Regions from separate parts of the Homo sapiens genome. Here all the other regions are linked to region 2. Evidence: promoter capture Hi-C in 16 types of primary human blood cells and fetal thymus (Javierre and others, 2016). All regions are on one chromosome and are shown on one strand. The core of a region is centred on a gene start or on the middle of the fragment in contact, and the rest is flanking DNA. Distances in the headings are between cores, read along the strand shown. Region 1 holds the start of H1-6 (H1.6 linker histone, cluster member). Region 2 holds the start of TRH-GTG1-5 (tRNA-His (anticodon GTG) 1-5). Region 3 holds the start of HFE (homeostatic iron regulator).

Evidence for each region. The method cuts DNA at HindIII sites, captures the fragments that hold promoters and counts their contacts. A CHiCAGO score of 5 or more calls a contact.
Region 1: the fragment with the promoter of H1-6 here is called in contact with a fragment that was not itself captured in region 2 in 4 of 17 cell types (naive B cells, total CD4 T cells, naive CD8 T cells and 1 more); the score reaches 5.8 in naive B cells.
Region 3: the fragment with the promoter of HFE here is called in contact with a fragment that was not itself captured in region 2 in 1 of 17 cell types (non-activated CD4 T cells); the score reaches 5.7 in non-activated CD4 T cells.

The regions. Positions count from the first base shown.
Region 1 is chr6:26,106,778-26,110,816 of GRCh38, reverse strand. H1-6 (H1.6 linker histone, cluster member) reads left to right here and starts at 2,682. Exons shown (of 1, transcript NM_005323.4): 1 at 2,682-3,405. The coding sequence starts at 2,724. The coding sequence ends at 3,347. The HindIII fragment of the contact is 5,524 bases long and covers 1-3,055 here.
Region 2 is chr6:27,157,169-27,160,869 of GRCh38, reverse strand. It overlaps TRH-GTG1-5 (tRNA-His (anticodon GTG) 1-5), which reads right to left and starts at 2,743; the gene lies at 2,672-2,743. RefSeq lists a silencer at 2,583-2,632. The HindIII fragment of the contact is 2,858 bases long and covers 803-3,660 here.
Region 3 is chr6:26,085,549-26,089,371 of GRCh38, reverse strand. It overlaps HFE (homeostatic iron regulator), which reads right to left and starts at 1,943. Exons shown (of 6, transcript NM_000410.4): 1 at 1,856-1,943. The coding sequence starts at 1,931. It also overlaps HFE-AS1. The HindIII fragment of the contact is 3,203 bases long and covers 1-2,328 here.

The DNA.
Region 1 (4,039 bases), core at 1,433-3,932, 1.1 Mb after region 2:
AGTTTTAAAGCAATGGAGTAACGTATCTGTCAACTTGTAAATATAAGGATCAACCTGATCCACAATTTGACCCCTAGCCACTAATATTTAATAGTACAACACTCAGAAATTATCAAAGGTCAGAGAAGCCAAACAAATGTAAAAACATACAGGTGCTCAGAAAGATGCACCTGTAATCTCTCTAAGGAGAAATATTTTCCAAACTGAGTGACACGGTGCTTTAGTGAGTTGTGGAATCAATCTCATGATTTCCAACCTAGTGTTCTTTTAAAAATGAACTAGTCCACAGTAGAATATACTAAAGTGCTGGTGCTTAAGATAGTATTGTTTTCTGGAAAAAAAAAAAAAATTTTTTTTTTTTGAGACAGGGTCTCGCTCTTGCCCAGGCTGAAGTGCAGTGGCACAATCATGCTCACTGCAGCCTTGACCTCCTGGGCCCAAGTGATTCTCCCACCTCAGCCTTTTGAGTAACTGGGACCACAGGTACGTGCCACCACACCCGGGTAATTTTTTAATTGTAGAGACAGGGTCTTGCTATGTGCTTAGGCTGGCCTTGTGAACTCCTGGGCTCTAGTGATCCACTAGCCTCAGCCTCCCAAATTTATGGGATTATAGGCATGAGCCACCCTACCTGGCCTGTTCCCTGAATTTTTTTTTCTTTCAGGTGTTTGTGCATATGTGTGTGTGTATGGGTATAACAGAGAGACAGAGAGAAAGAAACTTTTCTATCTCACTTTGCAATCAGAAGTTTGAAGTCTTATCTTTTGGCTTTTGTTTCAGAAATATTTCAAATGTAGACTCTCTCCTTTACCACACTGTCCCCTTAGGCAAGGTCTTTGCCATTCTTCTGAGACTATTGCAACAGACTCCCAACTTCTGACTGTGGGCCCTTCTCAAAAATGATTGTTTATGCAATAAATCTAAACCCAAGACAACTACAACAATACAACAAATTCTCTGCTTAAAAACTTCCAATGTCTGCCGGGCGCGGCGGCTCACGCATGTATTCCCAGCACTTTGGAGGCAGAGGCGGGCAGATCACTTGAGGTGGGGAGTTCGAGACTAGCCTGGCCAACATGATGAAACCCCATCTCTACTAAAAATACAAAAAATTAGCCAGGCATGGTGGTGGGCGCCTATAATCCCAGCTAATTGGGAGGCTGAGGCAGGAGAATTGCCTGAACCTGGGAGGTGGAGGTTGCACTGAGCCAAGATCACACCATTGCACTCCAGCCTGGGCAACAAGAGCAAAACTCTGTCTCAAACCAAACCAAAACAAAACTTCTAATATCTACCAAATGTTTCACACAAGTATTTGGGGATCTTCACAAATGGCCCTTATGGAGTTTTCCTTTGCTGAGACCCTATGCTCTGGCCACACTAAACTCATTCAGCATCCCAGAAAGGCCTCAGCCTTTGTGAGCAAGCTCTTATCTCCAGGCCTCTCACAAAGACCTGTTCCAGTAGAAGCTCAGGGGAGCACACTGGACATTATTCCAACAACCCTTTCCCCACAGCTATGCAGCCAAATCTGCCAGCTCAGTTAATTAATTAAGCAATTCAGAGATGAGGGTCTGCCCAGGCTGGAGTGCAGTAGCTGCGACCTCAAGCTCCTGGGCTCTAAGTGATCCTCTTCAGTCTACCCAGAAGCTGGGACTGCAGGCATGTGCCACCACACCCAGCTAATTTTTTTTTTTTTCAGTAGGGACCAGGCCAACCTAGTCTTGAACTCCTGGCCTCCAGCCTTCCGAAGTGCTGTAATTACAGGCATGAATCACTGCGCCCAGCCAACCCGCCCAGTCTTGTTAGACATGGGGTCTGTAGTTTCTAGTAGGTTCTTGAGTCTAGGGTTCCTACCTCATGTTTTATAGTTAATTTAGGGGAGGGACTGTGTCTGTTTATCTGGGGATGTAGGGGTGGGCAGGGGGATAGAGGGGACTTCAATTAATGAAACCAGAAGCAAAACTCAGTTGAGGACACCGGTCATGAGAGTGGCCTGATTATGGCCAATCTTACATAATGTGTGAGATCTTGATATTACCCCATCCTTGAGAGTCCTCTATAAAGCTACAGGGACTTGGGAGCACCTTTAATTACAGACAACCCATGTTCCTGTGGATTATGATTTATTAGATTGCACATGCCTAAATAAAGACATCCTCTGCAGTCTTTTGACAATTCTATAAGCATCTTCTGACTCCGCAATTAGACAGCTAAGAGATCTGTGTTACTTCCCTCACATATATAAATAATTTTAAATAAAAATCATGGCGTGAATAATTTCTTTCCTCTACCGATTTGAAGCTATCCATTTGGAAGACCACTCTGAAGAGATGAAATAAGTCTTCTGCCAAAGATTACTTATTAATTTACAAGGAAAAGGGGAAGTTTTGTTCCTCTCCGTGAATTTGATTGAAAATCGAGGGCTTTCTCGAATAGTTTTGGCATCCAGGGTCATTTTTCATTAAAAAGAGAAAAGTCATGTCAAATATGAATTTCCGCAGATTATTCAGCACTAGACCCTGGGAGATTCTGTAAAGAGGGGTTTTGTTATACTCAACTTTTCCGGGTAAAACAAACACAAATACTCCTCCTCCAAGGGGCGGGGGCGGTGCCTAGGTGATGCACCAATCACAGCGCGCCCTACCCTATATAAGGCCCCGAGGCCGCCCGGGTGTTTCATGCTTTTCGCTGGTTATTACATCTTGCGTTTCTCTGTTGTTATGTCTGAAACCGTGCCTGCAGCTTCTGCCAGTGCTGGTGTAGCCGCTATGGAGAAACTTCCAACCAAGAAGCGAGGGAGGAAGCCGGCTGGCTTGATAAGTGCAAGTCGCAAAGTGCCGAACCTCTCTGTGTCCAAGTTGATCACCGAGGCCCTTTCAGTGTCACAGGAACGAGTAGGTATGTCTTTGGTTGCGCTCAAGAAGGCATTGGCCGCTGCTGGCTACGACGTAGAGAAGAATAACAGCCGCATCAAACTGTCCCTCAAGAGCTTAGTGAACAAGGGAATCCTGGTGCAAACCAGGGGTACTGGTGCTTCCGGTTCCTTTAAGCTTAGTAAGAAGGTGATTCCTAAATCTACCAGAAGCAAGGCTAAAAAGTCAGTTTCTGCCAAGACCAAGAAGCTGGTTTTATCCAGGGACTCCAAGTCACCAAAGACTGCTAAAACCAATAAGAGAGCCAAGAAGCCGAGAGCGACAACTCCTAAAACTGTTAGGAGCGGGAGAAAGGCTAAAGGAGCCAAGGGTAAGCAACAGCAGAAGAGCCCAGTGAAGGCAAGGGCTTCGAAGTCAAAATTGACCCAACATCATGAAGTTAATGTTAGAAAGGCCACATCTAAGAAGTAAAGAGCTTTCCGGGAGGCCAATTTGGAAAGAACCCAAAGGCTCTTTTAAGAGCCACCCACATTATTTTAAGATGGCGTAACACTGGAAACAAGTTTCTGTGACAGTTATCTATAGGTTTAAGTTGTGATGCAGCTGAGTTGAAAAGGCTTGAGATTGGAGAATTAATTCAGGCCAGGCTTCAAGACCATCCTGGGCAACATAGCCAGACTACCATCTATACCAGGGGTCCTCATTTCCCCGGCCACCGACCGGTAACCGGTCCCTGTCCATGGCACGTTATGAATTGAGCCGCACAGCTGAGGGGTGAGCGAACATTAACCAACTGAGCTCCACCGCCTGTCAGGTTAGCTGCAGCATTAGATAGATTCTCATAAGCTCAAACTGTATTGTGAATGGCACATGCAAGGGATCTAGGTTTCAGGCTCCTTGTGACAATCTAATGCCTGATGATCTGAGGTTGGAGCAGTTTTAGTCCGGAAATCATTGCTCCCAGCCCCTGCACCCCCTGGTCCGTGGTATAATTGTCTTACACAAAACGGTCTCTTGTGTCAAAAAGGTTGGAGACTACTGGTTTTACAAAAAAGTAAATTAGTCAAGCATGGTTGGCACGCTCCCTTAGTCCCTGCACCCAGGCGTTTAAGGATACAGTGAGCTATGATGGTGCTACCTCACTCCAGCCTGGGTGACAGCGA
Region 2 (3,701 bases), core at 982-3,481:
AAAAGCCCTTTGTTTCTCCTTTTGGAAATCTTTCCAAGATACAAGCAGACATTTCAACATAAAGTAGGTGCTGGAGTGGTGTGGCTACAGATAGATTGCTGCACCCTTGAGAGAAATTAACACTACGAAACCCCTGCTTAAAGTGTTTCATCCGGATTTCTGCTGACATTAGAAGGAAAGTTCTTTTCCTGATTCCCTGACTTTTGGGGCTATTCTTTCTAGAACCTACCTTTTCCCACAACATCTGTGTCTTCCCTAAACTTATGGCCTATCATAGCAAACATTTTGGCCAACATCCGCCTTATAAAAAGCCTTGCTCAGATCTTCAAATAAGCCTCAATACTGAGGACAGACAAAACCCTTCTTATTATTGTTAGAACTACCTTATCAGCATCAAAGAAGCACAGGATTGTAGTCAAGTTAAATAGATGCTGAGTCTGGTACCAGTCTTTGCAATATTACTACTGCATGAAGGCCTTCCACCACTTAAGTAGCAATGATATTTATTTATTTAGCTCCAAAAATGGCTTATTTTATTATTTTGTTTGTTTGTTTGTACCTTACTGAGCTAGTGCCATCATGCATTTACCACCCTTAAATCTTTAGAACAATCTTAGAAGGTGGTAACTTTCATTAATTTCCATGGAGAGATGAGAATGATAAAACATAGAAATATTAAAAAGTCATTTCAAGACCATGAATGCCATAGGTAGAGTAAAACAGTTTTCTTTCTGAAAATGTGGTTGGCAGACTGTGTAAGATACTTCCATACCAATATTAGTGCATTCATAAAATGCAAGCTTTTAATCTCACAATTCCCCTGTTTATACCAGATTTCTAGCAATGCTCACTCAAAGCTGCAAAACATTATTGTGAACCAGAGAACTTCACACCTCTAAGATAAACATGTGCTTTGCACTGAGTATCATATGGTACACGCCAAGCAAGCTCTCTACTTTTCGAGCAAATCATACAGCATGGGTTTTATTGAGCCCTATTACTCACTTGTCACTACAATTTTATTCTGTAATAGATCTAGGACCCTAGCTCTCTCACTAAGAGATAGCCTCTGAGTCAGAGTCCATAGATTTCTGCTACTCAGGCCAGTAAGATCTGAGAAAATGTGTTCTGGAGAATTGCAAGATCAAAATGTTTATTGCTTTAGCAGTTTTATCATTCACTTGTGGCAAAATAATTGACAAGAACTGATCCTTTAGGGTCAATACATACTTGATCCCTGTCTTCACTCTTGTAAGACTGAGTCAAGATAAAATAGACTAAAAAGAAAATTGAAGTAGAATGTGATACAAGTGAACATGAATAACCACTACAAATGCTATTAAATTACTGAGAAGAGGCCTAGAACCTGACCTGTTGGAGAGATGATATCCTACAGTATAAGGCAGCTCAGCTCAATTACAATATCTCTGAGTTTCAGAATCCATGTCAGCTGGATGGACAGTTGGAGAAGAAATGGGGGCTATTTTAGCCCCAAGAAGGAAAGAACAAATCTCTTTTGCTGAAATTTTTGATAAGTTGCTAAAAGTATGAGTATTCTTTTTTTTTGAGACCGAGTCTTACTCTGTCACTCAGGCTGGAGTGCAGTGGTGTGATCTTGGCTTACTGCAACTTCCACTGCCTGGGTTCAGGCAATTCTCGTGCCTTAGCCTTCCGAATAGCTGGGACTACAGGCCTATGCCACTATGCCAAGCTAATTTTTGTATTTTTAGTAGAGACGGGGTTTCACCATGTTGGCCATGCTGGTCTCGAACTCCCGACCTCAGGTGATCTGCCCGCCTCGGCCTCCCAAAGTGCTGGGATTATAGGCATGAGCCACCACACCTGTTTGAATACTAACCTTCCACCAGGGCCAGGAGGGACGAAGTGCCATTAATGTGTTCTCAGAGTGCTGTGCTACTAACTAGAACTGGGCTCATGGAAGCGCCTCTGGGGATCTGCCTGTCTCCAGCCACCTCCTACTGGTCCTAGGTAGCACCAACTACTTCTTTCCAGCCACCTCCGTATCTCAGATCAGCTCTCCTCCACTCCCGCCTCACCCAGTCTACTTGGCTCTTTAGAACTCATTCTAGAAACTGAACGGGCTAGAAATGGGGGCTGTTCTTCTGGGCCATTATTCCCCCCCACCCAAATTCCTTCAATTACTCAAATTTCTTTAATTTTCTCCAGATGATCAAAGGTTACAGTTTTTCAGCATTGGTCCAGCTAGGATACTTAGAAACGCGTGATTAATAATTTGTCTTTTGTGTTTTAAGAAAGATCTCCACAACAAACCTGGATCCCCTTTTGAACAGTCCTTTCCTCATGCCTACCAGTGTTTGAAAGTAAAAGTTTTCCATTAAAAAAAAATTACCTCAGTTTCTTCACATACAGCCAATGCCAACAAGACTGTAGGGCTTGGGTAGGGTTGGGAAGAGAATCTTTGGAGAGGGGAAAAAAAAGACAAGGCAACAAGCGTAGACACTCTCTGCTTGGCTGACTGGTTGGGGCACCATGATGAATACTAGTGTTTTTTGTGTACAGATTAGATCGTAAGTCAATTCAATTTTGCAAGGGTTTTTCCGAGACTGTCTCCACTCCAGTATGTTGAAAAATTGAGGCGACGTCAAGGTACTGCTCAGTACGTTGAGAAATTGAGGCGACATCAAGGTACTGCCGTGACTCGGATTCGAACCGAGGTTGCTGCGGCCACAACGCAGAGTACTAACCACTATACGATCACGGCACGCCACCAGAGGCCGCTGCTTGTGGGGCTCTTCCTTTGCTTATTTCCCAGAAACGTCTGTTTTTGTCATCTAAAGAATGGTGCAGTCTTTCGTCCTTATTTACACACCTACCCAGTTTACTTCCTTATCCACTCCCCGTCCCCAATATTTTGCTTATGGCAAAGAAGCCAAAGGTAACACATTAAGTTTCATTATATGGAATTTTCCCAGCGTGGTGGTTGTTTTTGGGGGTTGGTAATACTGTGCTTGTAAACTCATTATTCTCACTTCTATCTCCAACCCACGCATGTTTCTTGCTCAGTTTAGCAGTGTGGTCCTCAGATCTTTGGCAACAAAAGGAAGAGGGCGCTGCTTTGAAGTGGACCTGCCAGATCCCATTTTTTGCCAAACTAGTCAGAATCTTCGGGGGCTTGGCATGGAATCTGGCATCTCGACAGGTGCCAGAAGTGAGTTTCTCATCACGAGGAACTATGTGGCTTCGTCCTGACCCAGGTACCTATGAGAAGCCAGTGAGGCGCTCGCGCACTCAGCCTGCCCACCTGAGCCGTCAGGAAATGTCCGGCGGCGCTCGCACCTCAGAGTGAAATTTCTTTCTCCCTTTCATACCTAGTTTGCCAGAAGAGGGAGATAAAAGTGCCTCTCCTGTGGCTCCAAAGCTCCGTGGGACTTCCCTCCTGCCCCGCTTGCTGTTTTAGGAACGTAGCCTCTAGAGTCAAGGTCCTGGTCGTGTTTTCCCCTTGATACCAAATGATTTTCTTTCTGTAAAATCATTCTGGTCTTAAACTCCTGAACTCAACTGATCCGCCCCTCTCGGCTTCCCAAAGCGCTAGGATTACAGGAGTGAGCCACCGCGCCCGGCCTCTTCTCTTTACCTGGTTAAATTTGTTTAATGCTTCAGCTTCAACTCAAGAAAGCTTTTCAAATCAAGGAAGCTTTTCTTGACCTCCCGTCTCCACG
Region 3 (3,823 bases), core at 694-3,193, 1.1 Mb after region 2:
TTGTTTGTGGCTCCTCTTCTGAGCCCATTACCTACTTCTTGGCCTCTACTCCCCAGCACTACTTGTTTATTTTTTTCAACCCGAGCTTCTTAACCAGGAGTTTGTCTACTAGGTGACATGTGGCAAAGTTTAGAGACATTTTTGGTTGTCAAGACTGGGGGAGTGCTCCTAGCACCTAGTGAGTAGGGAGGACAGGATACTGCTAGACATCCTACATGCAGATGGTAGTCCCCCTTCCCACCCCCACGCCGCCCCCCCCCCCCACACACACACACATGAGTAGTGCTGAGAAAACCCGCTTTTTAATCCAACTTGCCAGGCCCACTCAGTTTGCCTGGGAAATACTGCTCCCAGTCAATATCATTCTTATTTCCTTCATGTCTCTGCTCAAGTGTCAGCCCCAGAGTGACTTGCCCTGACTTCTCTGCTTCTCACAACACCCATGATTTCCTGATGTTGTATATCTTTCTGCTCATTTGCTTATTGTCATCTCTCCCACTAGAATGCAAAATATCAAAGGGTAAAGACTTGTTTCCCTGCTCTCTCCCTTGGGGCTTGAACAGTGCAACACATGGCTGGGACTCATTTACACTTGTAAACAATGAATATTTCTGCTCAACATGAAATTTTATTATTCAACCTCTAATGCAGTGTGATGTTTAAGAATCATAGCTATGAAGTGGAGACATGAGCTCTGCCACCAAAGCCCAGTGTACCATTGAATAAATTTGCCAGGAAGCAGGCCGTGCCATGCCTCATTCTTGTCATGTGTAAAATGTGGATACACGTAGTACCAAAACTCAAAGTGCTGTGCTGAGGCCGGCGTGTGACCCACAGAACACTGTGCTACACTACAGGGCAAAATCACTGTCAACTAAGATTAGAAGCAGCTGTAGTACTTGAAATAACATCAGAAAACCAGATTATTTATGTTCTTTGTAACCTGAAAAGAGTTATATAATCTGAATTCCAGTTAACTTCTAGTAAAATAAACGTATTATTAGCTCCTACCTCCCTATGCCTAGTGAAAATCAAATAAGATCAGATATGAATGTAACTTAGAAGTGAGTGCATTGCTTACATGTTCATTATCAGTACTTTGTAGAGAGGCCTCTTAATTACACAGCACATTGCAAATCAATAAAGCCTAGCCGAAAAGAGAATTGTTCAGTTCAAACGTTCAAAACTAACATATACTTAATTTTCCAGGCAAAAGAACAATTGCCAAGAGTGGGGAAAGGCCCGAGGTAGGCCTCTCTCAGGAGCCTCCCACCCTAGAGACCTCCACCCCAGGTCTCACCAAAAGTGGGTGGAATGGTGAAGAATTCAGATCCCCAACGCCACTCTTTCGCGCCCCCACCGCCCAACGCATTCGTTCTGAGGTGGAAACCCCGTGCGGATCCTGCTGTGGGTTTGCTCAGCCTTCTCGGCAAGCACTCAGGGAAGAACTTCCTGTTTGGAGATGACTGGGGAAAAAACTGCACAGCTGACATTGGAAATAAACCCGAGTTCCAGGTTCAAGGAGCCCCAGGCTTAGCTCAGCTCAAGTGAGGAACTACGAGATTTATTTAAAAGCATTCTAGTTGGGGGAAGGGAGTGGGCGGTTCCAAAAGTCACTCCGCAGAGCCGGGACAGCCGGGGGAGGGGGCAGGTCCTGGGGCGAGGGACCCCTATCTGCAGTTCAGTGGTAGGCACTCCCTCACGGGGTCTGGACGCAGAAAGTAGGGAGAGGGGCTTGCGGATAGGGTTGAGCAGGTCCTCCAAAGTTAGCAAACTCCCAAGCGCAAAGAAAAAGCTAGTTTCGATTTTTCCACCCCCGCCGCGCCCCTAGTTCGCCCGCAGCCCTCGGACTCACGCAGCAAGCGCCCCTGCAGGACCGCGGTCTGCAAAAGCATCAGGAGGAGAAGCGCCGGCCTGGCTCGCGGGCCCATTTCCCCAGCTCTGGCCGCACGTCCCCGTTAAATCTCCGCTTCTTTTGGGGGGCGGGGAAACGGGGATGGCTCCAGAAGTCACCCTACAGCTATTGCCTAGGCTCAGGAGATGCCCAGTAAAACTTCCTGGTGAAAAGCAACAGGTCTTTCAGAACTTTAGTTCTCTCTCTCCTACAGCAGAAGGTACCTGCTTGTGAAACACTAGGTGATCCAGTGTCCCCCTTGGTTTTTAAATCCTGAAGGGGTGTTGTTGATTGGGGAAAGTAGCTTCGCAATGTTCTGATCTGAACTTTAGATATTTAAATATTTATGATTTTCAAAATTCAATCATACATTTAAAAATTTTATCTCAACCTTAGACCAACTTATGTCTTATTTGACTTAGAAATATAAAGCTTTTTCATTTTGTTTTTTGATTCAAATTAATTAAGTCATAACATTAACCAATTAGATCCTACTGAAACACCTTCCACAGCCTTCATAATTGAATTATCTGACAAGTGTTTCACAAACTTTACAGTATTGGGATTATCTGGAGAATGATTAAACATATTGAGGCCTGCTCCTAACCCCAGACACACTGATTTAATGGGTAATTGTTAGGTAGTTAGACATTAGCAGTTGGGAGGGGATGACAGAAGAGAGCGGAAAGGCTGTCACTAAGACAGCCACTGGCCCACCTAAATTCAGGCCCAAGACTACCCTAATGCCACCCTAAGGGATGGAGTTTATGATAAAGTCTGTGGCCAAAATATCCTGGAGAAAGAGAAAGGAGGGTACAGGTGGAAATTCCCTAAGGTGGCACATGCCCAACAACACAAAAGCCTGTCTTCAAGTTCACCCCAAGTTCATCATGCCATCATTATAATAGAATTTACATACAGTTTTGCCCCCCCATCCCTGGGAGGCTTTTCTTAACAAATTATAGGTAAGACCATGCACAGTTTAATTTTAGATTGTATAGCTATACACTTCAATCAAATAACATCATCCTGTCACTCAGATACAGCCCAAACCTCAACTCCTCCCCACAAACCCCATAAAAGCACCTTGAGCTCTGTAAAGAAGTGCTGAGTTCACTTCGCAGAAATAAGCCCGCTGTCCCTCAGAGTGTATTATTGTGCTTCAATAAACTTTGCTTTAAGCTTGCATTTTGGTGTTAGTTTGTAGTTCTTTGCTCACTATCACAAGAACTGAGATTGCTGGTTCAGAGCTCCGGCTATAATAATCTCCTCGGTTAAAGGATCCATCCCAATGCATAATTCCCAGTAACAGTATGGGATGCCACCTGGGCAATGGGATTTTAAAAGCTTTCCTTCTCCCTCAACGAAGTTTGGGAATTATTGCCTTAGACATTTCAAACAATATTAATAAATTTAATACACCTGATTTGCTCCAAACCTTTACATATCTAGCAAATTCAACAGGCATTATTTTTGTAAGCATGTATGCAAATTTTGGCAATTCAAGAAAATCAAACAGGATATCAGGGCCTCGACTGTAGGCAAACAGATACAATAACATTGGAAACATGTAGAATATTGATGATGGGCACATTGGGGCTGATAGTACTATTCCTTTTTTTCAATTTTTGGTAAGATATAATTAGCATACCATATAATTCATCTATGTAAAATGCAAAAATTGGCCCGGCTCAGTGGCTCACGCTTGTAATCCCAGCACTTTGGGCGGCCGAGGAAGGCAGATCACCTGAGATCAGGGGTTCGAGACCAGCCTGGCCAACATGGTGAAACCCCGTCTTTACTAAAAATACAAAAATTAGCCGGGCGTGATAGCAGGCAACTGTAATCCCAGCTACATTAGAGGCTGAGGCAGGAGAATCGCTTGAACCCGGGAGGCGTAGGTTGCAGTGAGCTAAGATCGTGCCATCA